Regions from separate parts of the Homo sapiens genome. Here regions 1, 3 and 4 are each linked to region 2. The links are contacts of gene promoters, found by promoter capture Hi-C in human tissues and cell types (Jung and others, 2019). All regions are on one chromosome and are shown on one strand. The core of a region is centred on a gene start or on the middle of the fragment in contact, and the rest is flanking DNA. Distances in the headings are between cores, read along the strand shown. Region 1 overlaps ERBB4 (erb-b2 receptor tyrosine kinase 4). Region 2 holds the start of ERBB4 (erb-b2 receptor tyrosine kinase 4). Region 3 overlaps ERBB4 (erb-b2 receptor tyrosine kinase 4). Region 4 overlaps ERBB4 (erb-b2 receptor tyrosine kinase 4).

Evidence for each region. Contacts are between HindIII fragments. The study calls those that stand out against the background at their distance.
Region 1: a fragment that was not itself captured here is called in contact with the fragment with the promoter of ERBB4 in region 2 in 1 of the 25 tissues and cell types used here (aorta).
Region 3: a fragment that was not itself captured here is called in contact with the fragment with the promoter of ERBB4 in region 2 in 1 of the 25 tissues and cell types used here (dorsolateral prefrontal cortex).
Region 4: a contact is called between a fragment that was not itself captured here and the fragment with the promoter of ERBB4 in region 2, in 1 of the 25 tissues and cell types used here (hippocampus).

Annotation. Positions count from the first base shown.
Region 1 is chr2:212,045,003-212,047,945 of GRCh38, forward strand. The region is part of intron 2 of ERBB4 (erb-b2 receptor tyrosine kinase 4); the gene reads right to left. Among named protein-coding and RNA genes, the nearest start is that of MIR548F2, 380 kb to the right of the region's middle. The HindIII fragment of the contact is 5,412 bases long and covers 1-2,943 here.
Region 2 is chr2:212,536,914-212,540,129 of GRCh38, forward strand. It overlaps ERBB4 (erb-b2 receptor tyrosine kinase 4), which reads right to left and starts at 1,889. Exons shown (of 28, transcript NM_005235.3): 1 at 1,536-1,889. The coding sequence starts at 1,617. RefSeq lists an enhancer at 420-920. The HindIII fragment of the contact is 8,258 bases long and covers 1-3,216 here.
Region 3 is chr2:212,217,618-212,220,548 of GRCh38, forward strand. The region is part of intron 1 of ERBB4 (erb-b2 receptor tyrosine kinase 4); the gene reads right to left. Among named protein-coding and RNA genes, the nearest start is that of MIR548F2, 210 kb to the right of the region's middle. The HindIII fragment of the contact is 5,379 bases long and covers 1-2,931 here.
Region 4 is chr2:212,250,569-212,253,937 of GRCh38, forward strand. All of the region lies in intron 1 of ERBB4 (erb-b2 receptor tyrosine kinase 4), which reads right to left. Among named protein-coding and RNA genes, the nearest start is that of MIR548F2, 170 kb to the right of the region's middle. The HindIII fragment of the contact is 5,024 bases long and covers 1-3,369 here.

The DNA.
Region 1 (2,943 bases), core at 1-2,500, 490 kb before region 2:
TAATAGCCATCAAAAGCTTAAAAAAGCTTTATTCTCACAATTGTTTATTGACCAAAAAATAATTATGTTATATGAATCTTGCATAAAAATATTGGTAATTGTCTTCTCAACTTGACCTTTGGGACTTGGATTCCCTTGGTATGGCAATTAAATATACTACGTGAGAATAAAACTAGGCTGGGTGCAGTGGCTCATGCTTGTAATCCCAGCGCTTTGGGAGGCCAAGGCAGGCAGATCACATGAAGCCAGGGGTTTGAGACCAGCCTGGCCAACATGGCGAAATCTGTCTCTACTAAAAATACAAAAATTAGCCAGACATGTGGTGCACATCTGTAGTCCCAGCTACCTGGGAGGCTGAGGCATGAGAATCACTTGAACCTGGGAGACAGAGGTTGCAGTGAGCCAAGATTGTGCCACTGCACTCCAGCCTGGGCAATAGAGGAGAGAGGAGATTCTGTCTCAACAAATTAAAGAAAGGAAAAAGAAAAGTAACATTTTGTTTTTGGTAATATATAGTAGTATAACCCTCAATTGCTTTCCAAATCCCATTCCCCCATAAAAGCATCGTCAGAAGATCCAAGCTACCATTGAAGTTTTAGCCTCAGGGAGGACTAAGTAAGAGTGGATCATACCTGGAAATGAGACTGAACAGTACCAACATGAAACGTCAATAAGACTTAAGGCTGATAGATGAACCTGAAAAGGCTTCTTTCTCCTGTCCTTACAGATGAACAAACCGCTACTGTGTCCAAGAATAGCTTTTACAATCAAAGTAGTCTGCTGAAATAACCAAGAGTGACAATCAGCTCTTAACTTCAAAAGGGAACTTCACATTTCCCGATGCTTCATTTACAAATGACCAGTAATATATATATCCTTGGCAGAGATGAACATTTGTAGCTATATCTCTAAGCACAAGGACAGAGATGTCAAACCCTCCTACTTTGTATCACCAATATATTCTATGGAATAAACCGTCTTAGACTCACTGGTATTCAGGGATTCTCTCATTCAAGCTATCACAATTCTCATGATCCACCATTTGCCTCTGAAGATGACAATTTGGATAAATGAGTAAAGATGGGAAACCCAATCCATGTTAATTTTTTTCAGACATGTGAAGTGGAGAAGAGAACCTGAAAATAATGCTGTTGAACAGAAATATGCGAAATCTAAAAATGGAGAGACCTAATTTTTTATGAGACATAATAAAAAAGCAAAAGGAAATAGAATCACAGCAGTTTGGTGCTACGAGACACCTAAGAGAATAAACTAATCCCTTCACTTTACAGATGAGGGACCTAGGCCCCAGAGAGGTGAAGCCCATTAACCATGTTTGCACATAGTAAACAGTAGCACAGCTAGAGAAGTTCAGTTTTCTGACCCTACCCACTATGCAACAATAAATCTGGTAAGGGAGTATTTTGCTGTTTATAAGTTAAATGTGTGCAGTTTTGAAAAGAACATTAAAGAAAAGTATAGGATGGTCTAGATCTGATATCACTCCCATATGAGTTTCCATTTATATATTTACTATTACTTAGCAGTATTGATGTATTTATCATTTACCTTCGTATTCATCAATTAATAGGACATTCTATTGTACAGAAGGATGTCTATTACAGTCCAGTGATTCTTATATTTTTCCACCAAATTGTCTATTTGCCATTGCAATGGAGTGGGAAATCTTAAAGCCAGGAGATTTGGGGGCCGTGGCACAAATCTATCAGATGTAATGGAAAAATTTCTTCACCTAGTGATATTTCATCCTAAGAGTAATGCAACGTTTGCTGTTTGCTGGTTGTCATGGTAAGCTGTTTTTTTCTCCCAAAAGTTCAAGGTAAATTAATGGCCCAAAAGTATACAAGATTTGCTTTGCTTAACCTTGTGGAATTCCTGCATATCTTCAAGAGTTCATCTACCTTGGATATACTGATTATATGCCATTTTCTTTTCCCAATTTGGAAGCTTACTATAGAAAATAAGCACAAAGAGCTGAGTGCAAAAATAATTCATACAAAGGATATATTTTTGGGTTCTCTATTTCATGTAATAGCCATTATTCTCCCAAAAAGAACATAATTTTAAGAGAAAAGTTACACTGAATTTTAACTGCATATTATATATTGTTGTCCTAAAATGAAGTAAAAAAAAACTTTTAAGTTTTCTACCTCTAACACTCTTTATCCTAAACAAAATCCACCCACACTTTACAAATTATCCAGCAATGTTAACTCAAATATACATGAATTTGAATAATCTATGAGTATCAACTGATTAATCAAAACAAAACTTCTAAATTATTCTCTTTAGTCTCAATAGCTTATCTAAATGGATGTGGACAGGATGAAACTACAAATATGTTTCACGAAAATAACACTATTTTGCAAGAATGAAAAGAATCTTAACTTTCTTCTAATTCTCCATTTGACCATTCTTGAAGATTCTCCTTCATATTAATTTTATTTATTTATTTATTTATTTATTTTAGATGGAGTCTTGTTCTGTCCCCCAGGCTAGAGAGCAGTGGCTTGATCTTGGCTCACTGCAACTTCTGCCTCTTGGGTTCAAGCAATTCTCCTGTCTTAGCTTCGCAAGTAGTTGGGACTACAGGTACCCACCACCACACTTGGCTAATTTTTTTTTTTTTTTTTGTATTTTAGTAGAGATGGGGTTTCACCATGTTGCCCAGGCTGGTCTCGAACTCCTGAGCTCAAGCAATCCACCCACCTCAGCCTCCCAAAGTGCTAGGATTAGAGGCATGAGCCACCGTGCCCAGCCCTTCATATTAATTTTTAAAACAAATATTTATAGAATGCTTGATATTTGATGATTCTTATAGACAACACTCTTGTTTTCATGGAGTTTAGAGATAATAATCAGACAGTAAGCAAACGTAAATAAATAAAAAGCACATTGTGATAGGTTCTATACAAGGAATTA
Region 2 (3,216 bases), core at 639-3,138:
GAGGGAGATAAAAAGAGATGTATCTAAGAGGCCGCTTGGAATGTCAAGTCCGTGTTGGTGTGATTCCGGAGGTGGCTGGAGCGCGGGACCTGGTATGCGTGAAGAATTTCGGAGTAATTGGGAGGGTGCAAACGGCCAGCACAAACGCCTCACATGTGCCATTCGAAGGTCATTTTGAAAGACTCGATAATTGTAACTTGTTATTTACTAGGCAAAGGAGGCGGCGGCGGCGGCGGCGGCGGAGCGGGAAAACTACAGCTAGCCGTTTTCTTGGTGAGGTCAGAAGGACACCCTCCGGGGGCCTAAAGCGCTCCCTATCGCCACTCCCGGGGGCTTTATCACCTCAAGCTACTTCCCACGCTCCAGTCACCATCCCTGGATGGTTTCGGAAATCTCTCTGGCTCTCCAAAAGGCACCCCTTGGCCACGTCAAGACACCGGTCCTCCTCAGACCTCTCCCGTCCCACTTTCATCCCCAGGAAACTCTAGTGTCAGAAACTTTGAGCTCCATTGCACTGCAGGTGCTGTCATTAGTCCTGCAAGCCGTGGCGGGCCAGCCCCGCCGCGCTGCCTCTCGGGGTCAATTAGCCCTTTGCCTGCCCAGGTACCTGGGGCTCGAGCTCTCCAGCAAGCAGTGGCCGCGCACCCATCGCCGCTGCCGCTTTCGCCTCGGGTGGATCCAGTGACCCGCAGGCTCGGCAGCCTGGCCGGGCAGTAAACAGACAAGTTTGAAGGACTCCGGCCAATAGCAAGTTGAACTACAGGAAGAACTCTTCCCGGAGCCAAACACGGCAACCGACGGGAAGGCCGGGCTTCTGGCTCAAGTGTGCCAAGCCTTTTTTTTTTTTTTTAAGAGGTCAGGCAGGCGAGTAAGCGCCCCTCAAGTCAATGGGGAGAGGGCTCCGGGAAGCCGGCGGAAGAGGCCCAGAACTCCGGGCCCCGGACCGAGGCGCGCCCGCCTGCTGCACTCCGGCTGCCCGGGCTGGGCGCGAGTTGCGTCTGACGCCACAAGGCTCGGGCGACTGGGGGCGCAGCGGTCGCCAGCAGCACACACAGGTGCAAAGCCCGATTTTCTGAGCGCCGCTCTCCACCGCCCTTCGGGCTCGGCTCGGGAGAGGCCCAGCCAGCACCGCCCCAGGACCGCGGCCCCGGCGGTGCGGGTTCTGCCCTCGGGGACCCGACAGGGACAGAAGAGTCTCCTCTGACTGGGGATTTGGGTCTCCCATGTCCCGAACAACAGGCGCCACCAGAAGGGATCCCGCTTAGGCTCCCAAACAAAACGCTCGGGAAAGAAAAGCAGGGGGTTAAGGAGAGAAAAGAGGGACTCAGAGTGATTTTTCACGATAAATAAAGCAAACGCACACATACAGGGTAAGTTTCAAATGGAAAGAGGGGTGACCGAAAGCCCAGGGAAGAGGCCCCGGTCAAGCGGTCCCTCCACGCCTCCCGGGATGGGTGAAGAGGGCAGGGGAGCCACTCGAGGCAGCCCCGCCGGCGGCTGCAGGTTCGGCGACCGGAGTGCCAGAAGGAACCCACCTGACTGAGAATCGCTGGGCTGGACGGTCCCCGCCGCCACGAGAAGGCTCACCCAGACCCAAAGTCCTGTCGCCGGCTTCATTTTTTGGAAGTCTCAGATCCCGTGCTGACAATTACATGTCCAAATGGCATATCCCCCTTTCGGGCACGCGGAGGAGATCCCCCAGCCGGGCGCGCGTGGGGGTGCGAGGGGGGCGGGCGCGGCGCGCGCGGTGTGGCGACTCCCAGGGCGGGCGACCGAGTCCGCGCCCGCGGGTCCAGGGCCGGGGCCCGAGGAGGGGGCGAGTGTGAGCGCGTGTGTGCGCGTGTGGGAGTGTGCTCGGTGTGTGCGCTTGGCGCTCTGGGCCGGACTGTGCAGCTATTTCCCCGCGTGAGCCTTCGCTTGCTCGCTCCCTCCTCACTTTCTCTCTCTCTCACTGGTTGGTCAACAATAAAAAAGGAAGGGGGGCGAAAGGTTTCCAAAAAAAGTTGATTGCAAAGAGGCGGTAGGTTTCCGGCCTCTCCCCGCAGCCGGGCTATGTTCTGCTCCTTCTTCAGTTTCCTTGCACCTCCAGTCCAAATCGGGAGGGGAGCGGGGCGGGGGGAGCTTCTCGCTTCTCCCCGGATCCCGTCCTTCTTTTTCCTCTCAGCTTTCCTCACACTTGTCCGGCGGCTGCGGTAATTAAAGCTCCGAGCGTCATTTCCAGCGCTCCGCGGTCTCCAGCTGCAGCCCACAGAGAAATTAATAAGACTCCAGAAAAAAAAAAAAAAAAGGTGCGGGGGGCGGTGGGAATAAAACAACCCTCCACGCAACCAGGCCGGCTCTGCTCAGCCGCGCAAACCCCGCCCATGCTCTGACCCAACTAGCCACGCCCTTCCCCCCCCCTTCCAAAGGGAAATCTTATTGGCTCAGCCACTCCCCAAAATCCTGGGCCTCCGGAGTTGGGAAAACACCTGTCAGGGAAAGGGAGCCTCTTGGTGGGGGCAGGGGAAGCTGGATTTAAAGGGCTCACCGAAGCCATGCACTGAAGCACTCGTCTTCCCTCCCTGGCAGAGGCCTGGGACAGCTGGCCTGCTGAGTGGACGGACCATTGGAGGGCCGCTTACGGAAATTTTTTTTTTTTTTAAACAAGAAAGTCAGCATTTTCTCCGTTGCCCCACGGTGCTCATCTACAGACAAGACTTTCCCTAGAAATAAAAGTCAATGTTGCTTTCAGCAAAAAGCCTCCGCCCGCAGTACTCTGCCACTCATGGTCCACAATTAGAAAGTACTTTAAAAGTGTGTACAGCAAGTAACTGGTAGCCCCTGAGGATTAGGTAGTGGTAGGGGTATAATCACCGCCCCGCCTCCCGCCCCCAGTTATGCCATCTCTCCGATTACTCCCACATTTCTAAACTGACCAACATTGAGCCAAACTAAACTTTCACATTTATAAAGGCATATCCTTTGATTTTTAGATTTTATGTTTTTTTTTCACCTTTGGAGTTCATTCTTATTAAGCAGATTCTAGTCCAAAGCCACTGATTTGATCTTAAAGGGCTAGAAATTGTCCCCAGCCTGAAAGAATTTAAGGAGGCCACATCAGAACATAATTAACCTTAAATGATTCTGTTTATTCTACAGTAGACCCAGCTTTAGGCCCCTTCCTTGTCCTCACTCTGCACATTCATGGTCCCTAATCTGGAGGTCATTGCTAGTTAC
Region 3 (2,931 bases), core at 303-2,802, 320 kb before region 2:
ATTTCTCACCGTGACAATCTATTGTCATCAGAACACATCAAGTACATTCAGAGGTAATTTAAACAGACCCATTAAAACATAAGCTCCAGAATCATAAAGAACTAGTTTCAAATTCAAGTTTAAAATACTGGTCATTTTGTTGAGTCTTGATAGTTTTTATAATTTAATTAAGCTTCCGTATATTAATTTATAAAATGAGATTACAAGGATTTTTGTGATGACCGAACAAGATAATATATGTAAAGCCCTTAGGTCTTAGAACATAATAAATGCCCAATAAAGTATATATTTCTTCTGGTGCACTTAAATCTTAAGACAGAATGTTGAATCAGCACATATCATGACAACCCAAAGATCAATAACTATTTGTAAATTAGATGAGAAAAAAGTATATTTATTGAATACCTAATACTGTCTGCTTGCTTCTGTGACATCATGTGACATGATTATTATGAAAAGTAACATAATAAGAATAAAGTAGTTCTTTACTATAGCCTCAAAGTCTCCATTGCTAACGAGAGCTGCTTTAGAAATATTGGCATAAAACCTTTTTTATAAGTTGCACATAATTACAGGATCAGCTTTGGGTTTCAATTGGTAAGAATTTCAGTTCTGTGCGGCCTTAATGAATAATATCTGAAGTACAAATTAAATTTTTTCTATCAGGAGGCTTATTCAGAAAATTATAGGCCATTTATTCCTTCCATAATATATGAGAAAGATAAATTTTTCCCTAACTCTATTCTTCAAAGAGTAAAACATCCTGGCTACAGCATTCATCCCTTTGTTTTGTCTGTCTGTTTGTTTGTGTGTTTGTTTGTTTGCATCCTTGCTTACTATTAAGGAAGCCTAGATGGTAAGACAATAAGAAAATAGAGGGCAAAGCCAGGCCATGTTCTCATAAGATTTAAGCCTGTGAGAGAACATCCAGAATTAATAATGTGTGAACCTGGAGCTAGTCAACCAGCTAATTGCCTTCAACACTGTTCATCATTAATCCAGAGATTGCCATTCCATTTTAGTTAAATAAGGAATTTCACATTGGCAAAAGTGAGTCTATAGTATTCATATCTCACTCTAGGTTGACTGCACAACCTCACAGGATGCCAATGGCTCATGCTGGCACATATCAATATCATGGGATTTATCCTGGTAACCTAGGTTTGTGTGCATCAGAAAGATGAGTTTCATGTATGTTTCTTAATTTACACATAATATATAGAATGGGGATATTCAGATTTCCCAAAGATAGCCATGTTTACTGTTTTTAAAGTCTCAAAAGATGTTTTAAAAGTTCACCATATGTACTAGAACTTTTATCCTTGAATGTATATGCCATTTTTTTTTTACCACTCAAACGTAAATCTACAGGGACCACACAATGATTCGTGTAGATTCCATTCCTTTTTATGATGCCAAAAATGTTTTAAAATAGTATTTTCTCCCCCGATTTAAAGAAAGGAAAGAATAGAGATTTTGTAGAATCATAAAATCATGAAGTGTCAGAGTTTACAGATTACAATCTAACTACTTAATGTTAAAAATGAAAAGAATGAGACCCAAAGAAGTTATGATTTTAAAAAATTGGTAAATGGTAGAACTAAAACCATTTCTTATTTTGTCCTCTAAACATTATTGCATTTCTGAAAAGTATACACATATGAATTATAAATGGTAGGGTGAAGTTTGTATAATGTCTTTTTATAGCAATCAATAAATAGGTGACTATGTCACATTTATACTGTAATTCTGATGCACACATAATACTTTAAAAACTGCTAAACAAGCATGTCAGAAAGACCTAAATTATAACATTTTTCTATATTATTTAATAAAAAATAATAAGATTTTTAAAGCAATTCCCTCCACTTGTGATTGACAAGATATACTATGATTCCAAACAGTCCAATTTTTGGTCACCTTCTCCCACTTGTGTTAGTTAAATCCAGAATGGGGGGAAAAATAAAAAATCTAATTATATTATTCATGCTAGCCTTGTATGCAGCATTCCTCTGCCCCTTACTGAGCCTCCCTAGAAGCTAGAAAGAGCCAATGGACAACTACATCACACACACACCCCATATCCTGATCATTCATCCCTGAAATTATGTATTCTTTACTCCTATACCTTATAAACAGTAGTGTAAATTGTGTGCATGGCCAAATTCATAACACAAAACACTCTTAGGAGCAAAATAGAAACCTGCACAAACCCTCTGGTTTTGTCAATGAAAACAACCTTTTATTATAAAGTGACAGTTTTATAACTTCAAAAATAGGCTTTAATTTTTATAGAACATTTAATTCAGGAATGAAAAATGTATTTTTATCAACCCGCAAAAAAAAAAAAAAGTGGGATTTTTCATCAGTGTTGCCAGAGGTGAAGGAAATTTACATGGTGAATGAAGTAAAAAGCCTATTTCAACTATCACAGTACCTTAAGGATGAAGAAAATAGTTTTAATTTTGGATAATAAATCACTTTTGTAGCATTTCAAAGATCAAGAAACTTGCTTATCAAAACAGAATGTAGTCATCATAATGCAAAGTCCTCAGGCAATGAGAATTGCAGTAAAATCTTTTTCTCCTTTTATAACTGGATCAATATTTTTGAGTATATAAGAATATGTACTCATTAAATCACTTTCACCTACTATATTTCATATTTGCTACAAATTACTTAATGTCACAGGAGACTGGAAGATCTATTTTAAATCTAAACACATAAGTACACTATCAAGTGGACACAAATAAGCATACACAAAGAAAAAGCTTTTTATTCGCCATCCCAAATGCCCAGCATTGCTTTGACCTAGTTATAAAAACCAGAGATTTGGTTTTATTTCCCAGCCTAAGAGTTAATTCTGATGATTTTAGCAGAAGGGAATGAATAGGAATATAGCATTCTCCTAAGACCTCTTGTTCCTGGGAT
Region 4 (3,369 bases), core at 732-3,231, 290 kb before region 2:
TAATAACAGGAAACATCAGACAAATGTAAAATGATACCATCTGAATTGATAATATTCCAATAACATTCAATCTAAATTCATGCATTCACTTATTCTTCCATGTTAGACAAACAATTTTTGAATGAATGAATTCAAACATCTTCCCTTCACGTTCTAGGCAGACCACACAGAGCCCTGTTGTTTTCTGTTTTTAGTCAAAAATAAATAAATAAATAAGATTATGGTGAAAAAAAACCATGCTATCAGTTCACAAGGGTAAAAAGTAAAAGAGGAAAAGCCCTGCTCCCCTGTTTTCTTATTTCCATTTGTCAAAATTAAATACTACTAACACAGTTATTTTTAAAAAGATTTTCACAAATAAATAGTGGTGTGAATTTCTGATATTGACTGAGAGATTTTGCAACAAGGGGAAGTTTTAAAACTCTGGCACACAATTATGGAGTTAGTTTGTTTATCAAATAGTCTAGGGCTGGCAATAGCAACTAAGCTTCAAGTTGATGGGTACAAAATTATTTCAAATTTTCTGAGTTGAAAACTTGTTATTCTATTGAGGATATACTTGACTCAATCTAAAATGTCTTTACATCCTGAATTCCAGTAAGACACAAAATTTCTATTAGGAAGAATTATATATACAGTTTGCTTTTTATTTACAAAAATGCTCTTATTAGAAGCTTATTGAAAACTGCCATATTAGTCTAAGAAGTTAAAAGCATCCAGCATGTATACATTCATTTATTTATTCATTTATTTGATAAACATTTATTCATATTTAATATGCAGCAGGCATCATTCTAGGCACTTGAAAAACAGCAGGGAATAAACTAAAAACATAATCCCTGTCCTCAAGTACCTCATATCGTAGTGAGAAGAGAAAACAGACACGATAGGTAAAACATAACATGCTTTTGACAGTAGTAAGGAATAAGGAAAAAATAAAAAGCAAAAATGAGGATCAGTAGCTTTCAGGAACTTACAAGTTTTGATTGGAGGACTTTTGGGAAACTAGATGAAGAAAGTGAGAGAGGAAGCCATGCAGACATATGACAGAAAACTATACAGGCAAAAGGAATAGCAAATGCAGATATCCTGAGGTAGGGGTGTGCCCAATATATTTTAGGTATTTTTTAAAAAAAAGGTTAATACTTCAGAAGAAAAGCAAGCAAGGGTGAAATGGTAGGAAATGAATTTAGAAAGGTGACAGGTGGTCAGACCATGTAGTTATTTGAAGATCCATTGCTGGCTGTTAGTCAAAAAGATATAGGAAGCCATGGGAAGTTAACCACTAACCAGAGGAGTGCCATGGTCTGATTTACATTTTAGCACTCTAGCTTTTATACTGACAATGGATCACAAGGGTAAAAACAAGACTAGACAGAAAGCCACTGCAAAAATCCAAGCAAGTGAGAAGGGTAGCTTTTACAAGGGTAATGACAATGGAGGTGTTGAAATGTGGTTGGATTCTAGATATATTTTTAAAGTAGAACCTCAAAATGTTTGGCATGTGGATAAGGGCAGTGATGAGAAAAGGTCAAAGATACGTTCCAGGTGTCTGACTTAAGCAACTAAAAGAATCTATTTGCAATTTACTGCGATGACATATAAATTTGAGGGGTCATTTATATACAGCATTAAATAAATCACGACGATGGATATGACTGTAGATAGAAAAAAGGTATCCTAGAATTAATCCCTGTGGGGAACTCCAACATTTAGAGGTAGAGGAGGTAAACACAAATGAATGAAAGAGATTAAGAAGAGCAGAAAGGTAGGAGGAATTTTGGTGTCATGAAAGCCATGTTAAGAAAGTGTTTCAAAAAGAAGAGAATGACCGTCTGTGTCAAATGCTGCTGATAGATCAACGAAGACTAAAACTAAAATGTAAGCATGCCATATGAAGGTCATTTTGGACTTTGGTAAGAGTCATTTTAGTAAAATGGTAAGGTCCACTGGCTGACTGGAGTGATTTCAAGAAAAGATGGAGGAGCAAAATTAGAGATAGTGAAATTCAGCTAGACTTCTAAGACTTGTTTTTTCTTGGAAAGGAAAGAAATCAGGATGTAGCCAGGGGAAAAATTGGGGTCCAAAGAAAGTTTTTAAAATACTGGATAAATATCATCCTTTTATGCTGATGATCATAGAGGAAAGAATAATGAGACTTTTAGACAGACAGGTCATCTATAATAAAAAGAGAGAAGATAGCATATAGAGTCACAGATGCTATCACTTACACATGTAGGTGTGATGGCAGAAGCTTCTATTCCAATGCAGACATATGTATTGTAAAAATTAAAAGTTGAAAAGTGACACATATCTTTAGAGTATCATCTACAGACATTAGATGCTCAGACACATAATCAAAAGATACATTACAATGAGTGAGCATCTTGTGGGAAAATTTGCATAACATCATTTGCATTTCTTCTAATATTCATGACAGTTTGACATCTACATCCTATGTTTACATTGAGAAAAGTCGTCAGTTATATATTACATGCTTCATTAGCTTACTTTTCTTAGAATCAAATGTCTGTAGATTTATTCTATTAAATGTGAATAAACATCATGAGTAGCAGTCGCCAAAGTGATACCACATAATCTGTAATCGTTCTGGGGCTCCTTGACTAACATGTTCAATTAAAAGTTGTTACAAATTTCCTGGTAACCCTCTTATTTTGTATATGAATTTAACAAAGCAATAAAAGTGAGATGGGATTGAAGCTGTAACTACAAATAAAAATTAAATATTTAATAATGCTGAAGTAAATGAAAATTGAGTGAACATCTCAGGTAGTTATTATATGACTACATTTTGGTGCATTTTTCTTGATCTTATCAGTTTTCTCATTACTTTTTCCATTACATTAAAAAAACCTATAATAAGTAAATTTGCTTCTCTTCTTCATCAAAACCAGTTCTTCTCAGAATTTCATGTTCATAGGAATCACTTAAGATCTTGTTAAAATGTAGGTTCTGATTCCGTAGTCTGGAGTGGGGCCCATACTTTTGCATTTCTAACTAGATTTCAGGTTTTGCCCATGCAGCTGGTTAGCAGAACACACTTGGAAAACAAGGGTCTAAACCACTCTGTTCTTGGCATTTGTGCAGAGGTTGAGATAAATTAATCATTTCATGCCTAATTTTTGGGTTGCCGTTAAAAAGTTAGTTAAGTAGTTAAGTAAAGTCATATGCCAGTTAATGAAGGGGATATGTTCTGAAAAATGTATCGTTAGGCATTTTGGTCACTGTGGGAACATCACAGAGTGTATTTACACAAGTCCACATGGTGTAGCCTACTACACACATAGGCTATCTGGTATAACCTATCACTCCTAGCCTGCACACCTGTATAGTATGTTACTGTACTGA